2 separate regions of the Homo sapiens genome follow, and region 1 is linked to region 2. The links are contacts of gene promoters, found by promoter capture Hi-C in human tissues and cell types (Jung and others, 2019). All regions are on one chromosome and are shown on one strand. Each heading gives the region's core, a stretch centred on a gene start or on the middle of the fragment in contact. The rest is flanking DNA. Distances are from core to core; before and after follow the strand shown.

Region 1 (6,280 bases), core at 250-2,749, 130 kb after region 2:
TCCTGATGGAAGTTCTGTTGTAGACGCGATTGGCATCAGTCGGTTCCGAGTGCTAAGCCACCGCCACAGAGATGGCTATAACACAGCGGACATTGAATATCTTGAAGATGAAAAGGTAAGGCTTATCATACTGGTGTATTTTATAGCAGTCGGTCCTCTCGCTTCCCTTTGCATTGTGGAAAAGCTTTGTCAAACTTGTACTGACAATATTACTTAAGTCCTTAATTCATCACTTAAGTTATTTATTTATCTATTTGTTTATTTTTGAGTCAAGGTCTTGTTCTGTCGTGCAGGCTAGAGTGCAGCAGCATGATCTTGGCCCACTGCAGCCTTGACCTCCCAGGCTCAAACGATCCTCCTGCTTTAGCCTCCCGAGTAGCTGGGACTGTAGGTGCACACCACCACACATGGCTAATTTAAATTTTGTTTGTCGTTGAAACAGAGTCTCCCTGTGTTTCCCAGGCTGGTCTCAAACTCCTGGGCTCAAGCAGTCCTCCCACCTCAACCAAAGTGTAGTAGCCCCAAAGTGCTGTGACTACAGGCATGAGCCCCTGCCTTCAGCAGTTATTTATTTTCTCAGTGGATTTTTACCTGAGTTGGGAGCTGGTACAGAAATCTCCTTTTAAAAAAATGATCTGGCCAGGCATGGTGGCTCACGCCTGTAATCCCAGCACTTTGGGAGGCCAAGGTGGGCAGGTCACGAGGTCAGGAGATTGAGACCATCCTGGCTAATACGGTGAAACCCTGGCTCTATTAAAAATATAAAAAAATTAACCATGTGTGGTGGCGGGCACCTGTAGTCCCAGCTACTTGGGAGGCTGAGGCAGGAGAATTGCTTGAACCTGGGAGCTGAAGGTTGCAGTGAGCTGAGATCGTGCCACTGCACTCCAGCCTGGGCGACAGAGCAAGACTCCATCTCAAAAAAAAAAAAAAAAAAAAAAAGACCTTATTGTACTTATGCAACATGTAAACCTGCGCATTGCAAAATAGGCTTTTGATTTGTATTTGATGCTGTAGCCCTGGAGCTGGCAAACTTTTTCTGTAAAGGGCCGGCTAATAAGTACTTTAGACTCCAGAGGCCATGTGGTCTCTGTCGAAGCTACCCAGTTCTGCCCTTGTAGTGCAAAAGCAGCCATAGACAATGTGTAAAGGCATGAGCATGACTGGTTTCCGTTAAATGTGACTTCCGGAAACATGGTGGTGAGCACGGTTTGACTCATGAACAGCAGTCTGTCAGTCCCTGTTCTCTAGGTTGGTATTAATTCAGAATGTGACAAAATCTACAACTTAAAAAATACCTCCCAAAGCTAAATATAAAAGACTTGAATTTATTAACCCTTAAGAATTTTTTCATGTGTCTAATAGAAATATCAGGACATATAATTTGACAAATTAGCAAAATGTTTTGAGAGATTCTCCAACAGACTTACACAAGGATGTCCATAACAGTCTTACTCCATTATAGCCCCAAACCAGGAACAGCCCAGGTGCTGATCACACTTGAGTCAGTAAACACATTGTGGTCCATTCATGCAATGGAATACTACCTGTCAATAAAAAGAAATGAACCACTCGTGCATGAAACAATATGGATGACTCTCACAGACATTATGCTAAGTGAGAGAAGCCAGACACAGGACGAACACATACCGCGTGGCTTCATCTGTATACTTCCAGGAACAGGCAAAACTAGAGTCTGGGGACAGAAGTCAGAAAAGGCTTGTGGGGTTGGCTTTGTAATTGACTGGAGGGAGTGGTGAAGAATCTTTCTAAGTAGTGGAAATGTCTATCTGGTTTTGGGTGATGGTCAGACTGGTGTATACAGTTGAGAAAACTCTTTGAGCTCAACAAGATCTATGCACTTTTTGGTCTGTAAATTATACTGCAGCAAGAAATTTTAAAATACTTAAAAGGAGGAAATCCTTGGAATTATTGTATCCCTCTTTTAAATTCTTTGGTTGACATTTGGAATTGTGGAAGTGAGGGTACGTAGCCACCCCACATCACACTGGAAGTCATTTTGGGGGCAGTGGTGTACACTTAGGATTTGTGAATGGAGTCACACCCAGGACACTGTCTCTGTGCCTCCTCCAGCTGCTGTTTCTGGTCATCCCAGTGCATGGGAGCAGAGCAGGGAGCCCAGCTCCCAGGCTGGACCAGAAAGCTGGGTTTCAAAGCTACAGCTGAAAGTGATAATTCTCAGGGTCTCTCTGTGGGATGGATAGACCTGACGGCAGGGTTTATTGACCGTTGTTGTAGATGACAGCTTTTAATAGTGTATGCGCTTATTTTAAATGGGGGCTTAAATAGCTACAACATGAAATAATTTTAGCTTATTTTTATAAGAAAATCCTCTATCACATATGAATATTTGATTTGTATAAATCAAATTGAGGGTGGTATATGCATTATATTATAATTTCTCAGCACACCGTAGTTTTTGTAGGTACTGGAATTTTGTAACAGGAAAGGACCTTCATGGTTTATTCCTATTATGCAGATGAGAAAACTCTGCCCTAACGAGGCTGTGAGACTGGCTAGATTCACACATGAGAGTTGGTGATGAAGCCAGACCAAACCCTGGCCCCGTGATTCCCAGTCCCATGCTCTTCCTCCTCTACCAGGTGTTCCTGAACAGGACTGAGGCGTAATTTAAATGACAGATGTGATAGTGACATAGGGACCAGAGGCCAAGCTTGGTCAGTCTAAGGTGCTGTGGCCGACCACAAGCTGGAGTCCATCAGCCCAGGCCAATGTAATGAGTGTAGTCTTGCCCTGTCGTGCCTTTAGGAATATAGTTTGGTGATATGGAATACAATTTTTAAAATGTCACCCTTTGACTTGGTAATTCTGTCAAGGTCTCTAGGAAACTACACTGAGGAAACCATACCTCCCTCCCTTGTCAAAAAAGCAAAACAAAACAAAACAACTTTTCCATAAATGTTTATATTATTGTGTTATTTTTAAAAATAAAAAAGCTAGAATATTCTAAATAACTTACGTGAATAGTTAAGTAAATTGGCATGTATCTCAAATATATAATTGCATGCAGCCATTGAACATTATTCAAAATTACAGGAAATGTGCTTATATTATGGTATTAAGAGAAAAATCAGGATACAATTGATAGATTTCAACTATGCAAAAAATGCAGATTTCTATATTGAGCATGTACCATTTTTGTGAAACTGATGAATTATTAAAATGCTAACTGCCACAAATCCACTTAGTGGAGGTGCAGAGGTCGCTGACTGTGTTACGTGCATTACTGTGAATGGTTCACACAGCTGTGCCTCTTTCCCTGATCAGGTGGAGGGTCCAGAGTATGAAGAACTTGCCGCTCTCCACGATTCTGTGCATCAACAGTCTGTTTCCTGGTTCGCGTCTCTCCAGGATCGCATGAAAGAACAAATTTTAAGTCATTTTGGGGTAATGCCAGACAGAGAACCTGAGCCTCAGGTATGCCCTCCCTTTTTCCTTTATAATTCTGTTACTTCCTGCTGTAGTGTGCTGAGCCATCATTCTGGTGGAGAGCTTGGCAGTATGATGCTGGTTACCCCAATGTGGTTGCTTATGAACCAGTTCATCTACTAACAGCCCAAAGGAGCACCTACTGTGGTAGCACATGACTTGTGAAGCAAAACAACAAAGGCTCTCTAACAGAACATAATTTCTTTTCTAACAACAATCAGTTTATTCTGCTTGGCTGTCAGCTTTTGTAGCCTTTTGCTTCTTTCACTCACATCTTAAAATTTAAGTAGTAACTTTATTGTATTGGCATGAACATTCCACGTTTGGCGCATAGCATTGCCTTGCACCTGGTATAGAGATGTTGAATAAGTGAAGAGAAAAATCCCATCATTCTTGTGACATTAGTAGCGTGACTTCCTTGTCCTCTAAGTACCCTGCTGCCCAGCTGTCATGGGCTTTCTCTGGTGCTCCCTACAAGTACTTTTGGTGAAGCTGGTTCTTTAAGCAATGAATGAGCTTAGGTTTGTGGAGCATTTCTAAGCTCAGGTGGGCCTCTCCTCTGCATTAGATGGGAGAGCCAGGCTGGGCTGGTTTAAGATTGTGCCTGAGAGTGTATACCTCCCACCTGTACATGGATGCTCAGCTGTCAAAGACAGTAGGGGAGGGGGATTGGCTCTCAGCTGGTTTAGGGTGATGTGAAAGGTCTTTTCCCATCCATTTTAACTTTTTTTTTCTGTCTCTTGGAGCTTCTATCTTTTACCCCCTGCCTGAATTCTTTTTTTTTCCAAACACAGAAAAATGCTTTAACTGCCAGAAATTGCCATTAAGTCCTTCCTGGCTTGCCCTTTTTGCATAAGCCTTTGTTCTGCAGTATCCTGGAACTCAGATTCAGAAAGCATGGTGGTTACACTGACTTGCATTAGGATATGAGTCATTCTTTTTCCTAGGAGTTGTTGTTTATTAACCAAATTAATCAATCTCTACTTGGCGGGTATATTAGCTTCCTACTACTGCTGTTAAGAAATTTCACGAACGTGGTGGCTTAAAACAACACATATGTATTATCTTTCACTCCTGGTTCTGCAGGCCAGACTATGATCAGGGTGATGGCAGCATGCGTTTCTCTTTGGAGGTTGTGGGGGAGAGTCTGTTTCCTTGTCTCTGCAGCTTGTAGAGGCTGGCGGCATTCCTCGGCTTCCTTCCTCCATCAGAGCCAGCAATGTTGCTTCTCTCCGACCGTTCTTCCAAAGCCACATGTCCCTCTGACCACAGCCCAGACAGGACCCTATATGAACACATTGGGCCCATCAGGATAATCCCCCCATCCCAAAGTCCTTAACTGAATCACATCCTCCAATTCCCTCTGCCATATAAGGTACCATATGGGGGACCATTTTTCTCATGACTACAGAGGGATTTTAGGTAATACATCAATTTTTATATGAGGTCCTTCCCATTAAGCGTGCTACTCAGTTTTTTTCTTTCTCTGTGAGATGAGGCAGGGAAAAGAGTGTGAATCTGTATAAAAGGTTGTTTTCTCCATCTGTGCCTTTCTACCTCTGAAGGGCAGGTTGATGTCTTCCTCACAGTGACTTGGGCTACCCCTGGTGAGCTTTGGCCACAGTGCTATTCCTAGTCCTCCAGCATAATCTACCTCACCCTAAACTAAGGTGACTCCAGAGTTCACCCTCCCAGCTCTTATCGGCATCCTGCACATTTTTGGAGAAGGAATAGAGTGAAGAATCCTAGACCCTGGAAACAAAAAGGCCTGGATATCTTGGTTCCAGTACTAAGAATATTGAGAACGAGTTTATGATCGGCTTTTGCCTAGCACTTAGTCTAGAAGTGCTTTGTTTGATTATGTGAAATAAAGGTTATTTGGTGGCATAATAATTCTTATATATATAATTTATGATAACTCTTGCATATGACATGCATACATATATATGTTTCATACATACACTCATTTGCCACATTGAGTATGTCACTCAAACTTGTACACATACTTTTAGCCTTTATAATATTATGCTTTATATGGCATGCTTAAGACATAAAAAATAATAGCACAGAACATTGGAAAGTGAAGGTTAAAGTGATAGTATTCTCCTCTGACTGGTATATACTCTTAACTGAAAGCTTGAGAGAACAGAAGCAACTAATTCATAGAATCTCCCCATGGAAGATGCTTCTCTTTGCAGGCTCTTCCTTTTGTGAGTTCCCCCACCTTTAAATGTGTACCATAAAAGTAAACTATGTATTTTGAGAGCTGAATGAATTGTGAATTAGCCCTAAAATACAAGGTGGCATTTAATTCTTGCTCACGTGTCTGTTGGTGGAGCAAAAGACTGTGTTGGGGAACAGGCTTGCATTTCCAGTGTTAACCTTGCTTTCCCCTCATCTCTTTTGCAGAGTAATCCCAGCGGCCCTGCCTGGTCCTGGTGGATCCTGGCCGTGCTGCCCCTGGAGCGCAAGGCTCAGCTGGCCATCCTCGGCATGACCTCGCTCAAAGAGCGGCTCCTTGCCATCCGACGGATATTAGTCATCATCACGCGTAAGATGAATAGTCGGCAAGAGCTGGCTAATGCCAGGGAGAGAAATAATTGATTTTTCTCTCTGTCAAGGTTTCTGGCAGCCCTTGTGCTTTTATAAATGTCAGGCATGGACGAATAGCCGTCCATTCATTGTGCTTCATCAAGTGCTTGTGGATGAGGTTCCAAAATGGGACGCTTGCCAAACATTGAGTCCTCCTCAAAAATGACAATTCTGTGTCTGGTGGGATCTGACCTTGTGTGAGGTTAGCCTGAAGTCT
Region 2 (6,248 bases), core at 3,256-5,755:
TGGGAGTAGCGGGTTGTTAAAGAACCTGGTATATTTTCCTTTTACTATTAAGAATTTGGGTTTCTTTGAGAACAGAAGTTCTCAATCATTTTTTCCTGAGAACCCATTTACACTCTTAAAAATTATCAAGGAACCCAAAGAGCTTTTGTTAATCTGGATGATATCCATCTATACTTATAACATGAGAAATTAAAAACCTTTAGTAATCCATTTTAGAAAATGAATATTCCCATTATATGTTACTTTAAATAGCATACTTTAAGGAAAAACAGCTATGTTTTTCAAAACAAAAATATGGCATTGTTTACCCTTTTGCAAATCTCTTTAATGTCTGGCTTAATAGAAGACAGCTGGAATCATATACTTCTCTTCGCACTCAATCTGTTGCAATATATTGGTCAAAGAATATGAAGAAACTCCTTCCTCACACAGATAAGTAGAAAAAGGAAGAAATATTTAAATCTTTTCAGATAATTTGGGGGTATTTTGAGTTTCCACACCTAAACCCAACAAGTGGTAGCCGTCTAAAGGTTAGTACAATGTGGAATCCAAAACCCTATCAATAAATATTTTATATTTGGTGACATTAAAACTCATCACTTTGGCATGTTTTCCAACACCAACAACCATTTATCTGATTCTCCACACACCAGTTGGCTGTCCTACAATTCAACTTAATCCTGACACTAACTACCTGGAGTTACAGTCAGACTCCACAGGTTCAGGGCTCAGTCTCACAAGACTTCCCTCACTTCAGATGCCAGTTGCAAGAATTGGGTCCCCAGATTATCCCACTTCTTTCCAGCTTGGCTATAAATCAGGGGTTCCATGACTCCCTCCCTCCTGTTTGGTGATCTGATAGAATAGCTCACAGAATTTGGGAAGACAGTTTATGTCCTACTATGTCCAGTTTATGTCCTGTTATAAAGGATACAACTCAGGAACAGTCAGATGGCAGAGATGCATGGGGCAAGGTAAGTGGAAAGGGTGCAGAGCTTCCCTGCTCTCACTGGGCACACCACTCTCCCAGGACCTGAATGTGTTCACCAACCTGGAAACTCTCTGAACTCTGTGGTCTAGAGGTTTCCATGGAGGCTTTATCATGCAGACATGATCCATTATTAACTTAATCTCCAGCCCCTCTCATCTCTCCAGAGGACTGGGTATAGGGCAAAAAATTGGAGGCTTCCATACGAGGCCTGGTTTTTCCAGTGACCAGTCTCCATCTGAAAATATTTAGGGGCCCAGCAAGAGTTGCTTCATTAGAACAAAAGATACTCCTATCACCCAGGAAACTCCAAGGGATTTAAGTGCTTTATGTCAGTGTATTAGTCCATTCTCACACTGCTATGAAAAAATGCCCAAGACTGGGTAATTCATAAAGAAAAGAGGTTTAATTGACTCACAGTTCTACATGGCTGGGGAGGCCTCAGGAAACTTACAATCATTGTGGAAGGCACCTCTTCACAGGGCGGCAGTAGAGAGAATGAGTGCTGAGTGAAGGGGGAAGCCCTTTATAAAACTATCAGATCTTATGAGAACTCACTCACTATCAGGAGAACAGCAGCATGGGGGTAACTGCCCCCAGGATCCAATTACCTCCCACAGGGTCCCTCCCATGACACGTGGGGATGACAGAAACTACAACTGAGATTTAGGTGGGGACACAGCCAAACTGTATCAGTCAGGAACCAGGGTCAAAGGCCAAATACATATTTCTTATTACACTACAACTGGTTGATCACTATACAATATTTTTTTACAACTAGTTGTTAGTACTACTTCTGATCTCATCAGAAAAATCTTTAAATATTGGGAAGCTGTCAAACTTACAGTGATGGATACAGGTTTTGCAAAAGTCTGATTTTTCACTTGAAAGCTTGAATGTTATCACAGACAACAAACACTATCATTTGTTTTTCTTGAAGTGACAGGCCCATGTCATTCATTTTGGAGGAAATGTCTGCCAAATGCCCAAATCTGGGTAACTGCAGTTTGTCTGTCAGTTCTGCTTTCAAGTAAAACTGGCGTTCCATAAAAAAGAGCTGCAGCTTGTGCATTGCAGGCCATTGCACAATGGCACGGCCTTCAGCAACCATCATCCTTGGGATGCAGCAGGATTGTTTCTGTGCATTTCCCACCCTGTCATGAGGGACATGACTGCTTCACGGGGGACATTCTTCAGTGACACTTTGTGTTTGTTTTTACTGCAAGTGCATGGTGGTGAAGGATGCAGTTACTACTGATTTGGTGTTGTCCCACTGCTGGGATTTGTGCTTACTTTTGCACAATCAGAGCAAATGTCTACATTGTAAAGAGGACAAATAATGTCCCAGTTCAACTATGAAAACAGTTTTGTCATTGCAGATCCTCTGAAAGGATCTTGGAGACTCCTAAAGATCCACTTTTTGGAGATCACTCTTTGCGAACTGCTATTTTAGAAACAATCCTCCTGCTACAAAGACTAAATATTTGGCTCACACGTGTAATCCCAGCACTTTGGGAGGCTGAGGCGGGTGGATAACTTGAGGTCAGGAGTTTGAGACCAGCCTGGCTAACATGGTGAAACCCCGTCTCTACTAAAAATACAAAAATTAGCCGGGTGTGGTGGCACGCACCTGTAATTCCAGCTACTTGAGAGACTGAGACAGGAGAATCACTTGAACCCAGGAGGCAGAGGTTGCAGTGAGCTGGGATGGCACCACTGCACTCCAACCTGGGCGACAGAGCGAGATTCCGTCTCAAAAAAAAAAAAAAGACTAAATACTAATATTTTCCTAGACATTCATTTATAGGAAAAAAAGAGGAACTATTTTGAAAAACTCCAACAAAAAAAACCAAAAAACCTCAGTTACCTTAGTTGTCAATGTGTAAGCCTCTAGAACAAACTCCATCTTTTAAAGTTTTGAACAGTATCTTGGGAATGCAGTAATAACAGTGACAATAGTGTGTGTTTGTTGCAGTGTTTACTACTGCGGGATGACTGTGCTTTGTATTTTAAATGCATCCTCTACAATATTCTTTAGTACCACACTTTTTTTTTTTTTTTTGAAGGAGTTTCACTCTTGTTGCCCAGGCTGGAGTGCAGTGGCGAGATCTCGACTCACCGCAACCTCCGCCTCCTGGGTTCAAGCAATTCTCCTGCCTCAGTCTCCCGAGCAGCTGGGATTACAGGCACGTGCCCCCACTCCTGGCTAATTTTTTTTGTAGTTTTATTAGAGACAGGGTTTCTCCATGTTGGTCATGCTGGTCTCGAACTCCCGACCTCAGGTGATCCACCTACCTCCGCCTCTCAAAATGTTGGGATTACAGGCGTGAGCCACCACGCCCGGCCTAGTACCACATTCTGTAGATGAGAAGACTGGGACACAGAGAGATGAGAGTGTGACAAGGTCAACAGTCATATGCAGTGACTAAGGCTCTGAATCCACGTGGTCTGATTCCCAGAGCCTTGATCCTTAAATCCTGCATAATATGCTGCATCACATCCAAGCTTCACATTTACTTACTTCTTTTCTGCCGTGCACGTGTATCGATTCAAATCCTCAAAGGGAAACCCAATGTCTCATCTCAACCACAGGGCCCCAAAAAAGGGCTCAGTAAACGTCTTCTGCATGAGGGACAGAACCTTTAAACCATGATTAGTAATGGGGCTAGAAGTGAAATACTCAAACAGCCAGCTCCCTCAATATTATTAACTCATTAAGGAGGGAACCAATAAAAAAGAAAAAAAACAAAAACAAAAACGCTTGTTCCTTGAAAGCTTTGAAAAATTGTGTGTGTGTGTGTGTGTGTGTGTATACATACACGTATCTATTTTACTTGTTTGCTAAATAGACACAGATATAGTCGGGTAGTTAACAAACATGTAGGTTGTATAAAAATAAAACTAGTTTATCTTCTTTGGGGCAATAAAATCCCAATACCTTTGAGGTTGACTCAGGCCTTATCCATTTCTGCAGGTTAAGAAGTTACAATTCTTCAGGTCTGTAAACTGGTCAGGCCGTTATCATTGTCCTTCGTTAATCCACTGTACCTAGACAACAGTTACATCCCCAACCCGGACAGCCAAGGGGGTTCTTTAAAGAATAGAACGTCCCCCTTTTACTAAGTAGGCTTATTAGAAAATGCTAGAAGTTACCCTTAACGCAAGCAAGTGGCCTTTTTCCAAGTTGGGGATTTAAGAAATTTACTTATCTATTTTTTGTATTTTTCCAAGGTGGTTTTGTGTGTGTGTGTGACTTTGTTGTTGTTTTGGTTTGGTTTTTTGCCTTTTTCCAAGTTTGGGATTTTTTTTCTTTCTCAAAAAGCGAACCTGTTTTCTGGATGGAGGCCCAGCGGGACTTGTTCCGGCCGCAGGTCTCGGTCAGAAAGAACGCTTTTGCAGCGGCAGAAAGGGAGACTCGGGATCCGGGCCTGGGGTCCCGCGGCCGCGCCCCTCCCCACTCCCCGCGACCCGCTGGAACGCGCACGGCCGGGGACGGCGGCGGGGACGCGCGCGGGCAGGCGGCGCGCACGGCCGGATAGGCGCGAGGGGGCCGCGTGAGGCGGTGCCGGCGTTCTGGCCCCCAAAGCCGGTCTAGCGCGCCGGGCGTCTTCCTTACTTCCGCTGCCGCCGCCGCCACATCCCGGGACCCGACGGGCCGCGGCGCGGAGGCCTCGGGGCAAGGTGGGGCGGGCCTCCCGAGCTCCCAGGACCCCGCGCGCTTCGCCCACAGGCCCGGCGAAGCCCGACCCGCGCGGCGCCCCCAGGGCCAGGGGAGGAGCCTAAGGACCCGGACGAGCGCCGCTCCAGTAGGGTGAGCTCGGGGACGCGCAGGCGGGTGGGTTTCAGCGCCTGGGCCCCTCTCCCCGCCGCGGGGCGCACGGAAAAACCGGGGAACCCGCGGGTTTTGTCCTGGCGAGCCACATCCCGGTGTGTTTTGGCGACTTGAAGACCTCCCTAGTTCGCGGGAGTAGCGGGAAGAGCCTTCCTCGCGTTAATTATGCAATAAGAAGGCGTCCTTGTGCGGGATGCTGTGACCCGCGGAATTATTGATATTGTGCGAGCCTACAATTTACTTCTTTCATCCTTGGCTGAGAATTTGCGTTTGTAATTGTAGATGGAGAGAGGAAGAAAGGGTTCAGCTTGGGTCCAAGGAGCATGCAGAGGAAGGCAGGGAAGAAGGAGCATGTGCAGCTTCGGTGCGAGGGGAGTCAGGGGTGGGAATGCACGTTCCCTGCCTGAGGGGCCCCGGGGTGCCCTGAGCCTCTGATCTTCGCTGTCAGGAGGCCTGTCCGAAGTTGGAGGTTGAGGCATGCAGTTCTGCACTTCTGGCTGGGAAGGTGAACCAGGTTTTCCAAAATGTCATTTTTGCTTTCCAAGTCTGCAAGGCAGGAAAGGGTTGGGCAGTGAATGGAAAGTAGTGCAGCCAGGTTCTGGTTAGCTCAGCGGCAGGACTGTCATAACGGTGGGTTTTTGTTGTTGTTGTTGTTGTTGTTGTTTTGTCTGAAAACCAGAGTCTGGGGCTTTGGGCCATGAGGAGTTGGGTTATTGCATTGCTTAGAGTGCCAGAGTGAGAAATGTCTCAGACGCTGTTAAAATTAGGCAGCTCAGTTTAGCTCTGGCTCTCTGATAACCAACCACCTCCTCCTTCACTCTTTTCAGTGACTGGGTTAAAATGAAAAGACACAAAGAGAGAAGTGGTCTTTTCCCTTCCCTCCCCATTATAATTAAGAGCTTAGTCCATCTTGGCTCAGAATTGGAATTCAGAATTCAGAATTGCTCTTGACCCTGAAGAATAGAATCTCAAAGAAATACCTGAGCAGAAAATTCTCTTCTTCGCTGAAATGAAAATTGGAGTGTTTGCAAAACTGAACAAAGAAAGGAAAGAATTTGTAAACATCACAGGCAACTTGCAGTTATATTCGGATCATTTTTCAGTGTTTGAGGAGTTCATACAATAAAAAGGTGAGAGAGAGCCAGGAATAGAAACAGGGGAGAGAGGTGGTTGCAGGACCTTAGAGATTGCAGAAACCCAGGAGTTCATTTTCTTTTCATACACTTCTGGATAACCTGGATGTGAGGACCATCAAATGCCGTACATGATGTTTCTAACAATGATGGACCACATATACAACAGTGGTCCCATAAGACTATACTACCTTATTTTTACTCTACCTTTTCTAATTTTAGATACACAAATACTTACCATTGTATTACAGATGCTTACAGTATTCAGTACAGTAACAGCAGTACAAGTTAGTAG

The links. Contacts are between HindIII fragments. The study calls those that stand out against the background at their distance.
Region 1: a fragment that was not itself captured here is called in contact with the fragment with the promoter of CHST10 in region 2 in 1 of the 25 tissues and cell types used here (IMR-90 fibroblasts).

What each region holds. Positions count from the first base shown.
Region 1 is chr2:100,284,093-100,290,372 of GRCh38, reverse strand. It overlaps LONRF2 (LON peptidase N-terminal domain and ring finger 2), which reads left to right. Exons shown (of 12, transcript NM_198461.4): 10 at 1-115; 11 at 3,310-3,459; 12 at 5,881-6,280. The coding sequence ends at 6,075. Among named protein-coding and RNA genes, the nearest start is that of LONRF2, 35 kb to the left of the region's middle. The HindIII fragment of the contact is 5,305 bases long and covers 1-4,151 here.
Region 2 is chr2:100,415,925-100,422,172 of GRCh38, reverse strand. It overlaps CHST10 (carbohydrate sulfotransferase 10), which reads left to right and starts at 4,505. Exons shown (of 7, transcript NM_004854.5): 1 at 4,505-4,799. RefSeq lists silencers at 4,400-4,849, 4,860-5,009. The HindIII fragment of the contact is 6,609 bases long and covers 2,687-6,248 here.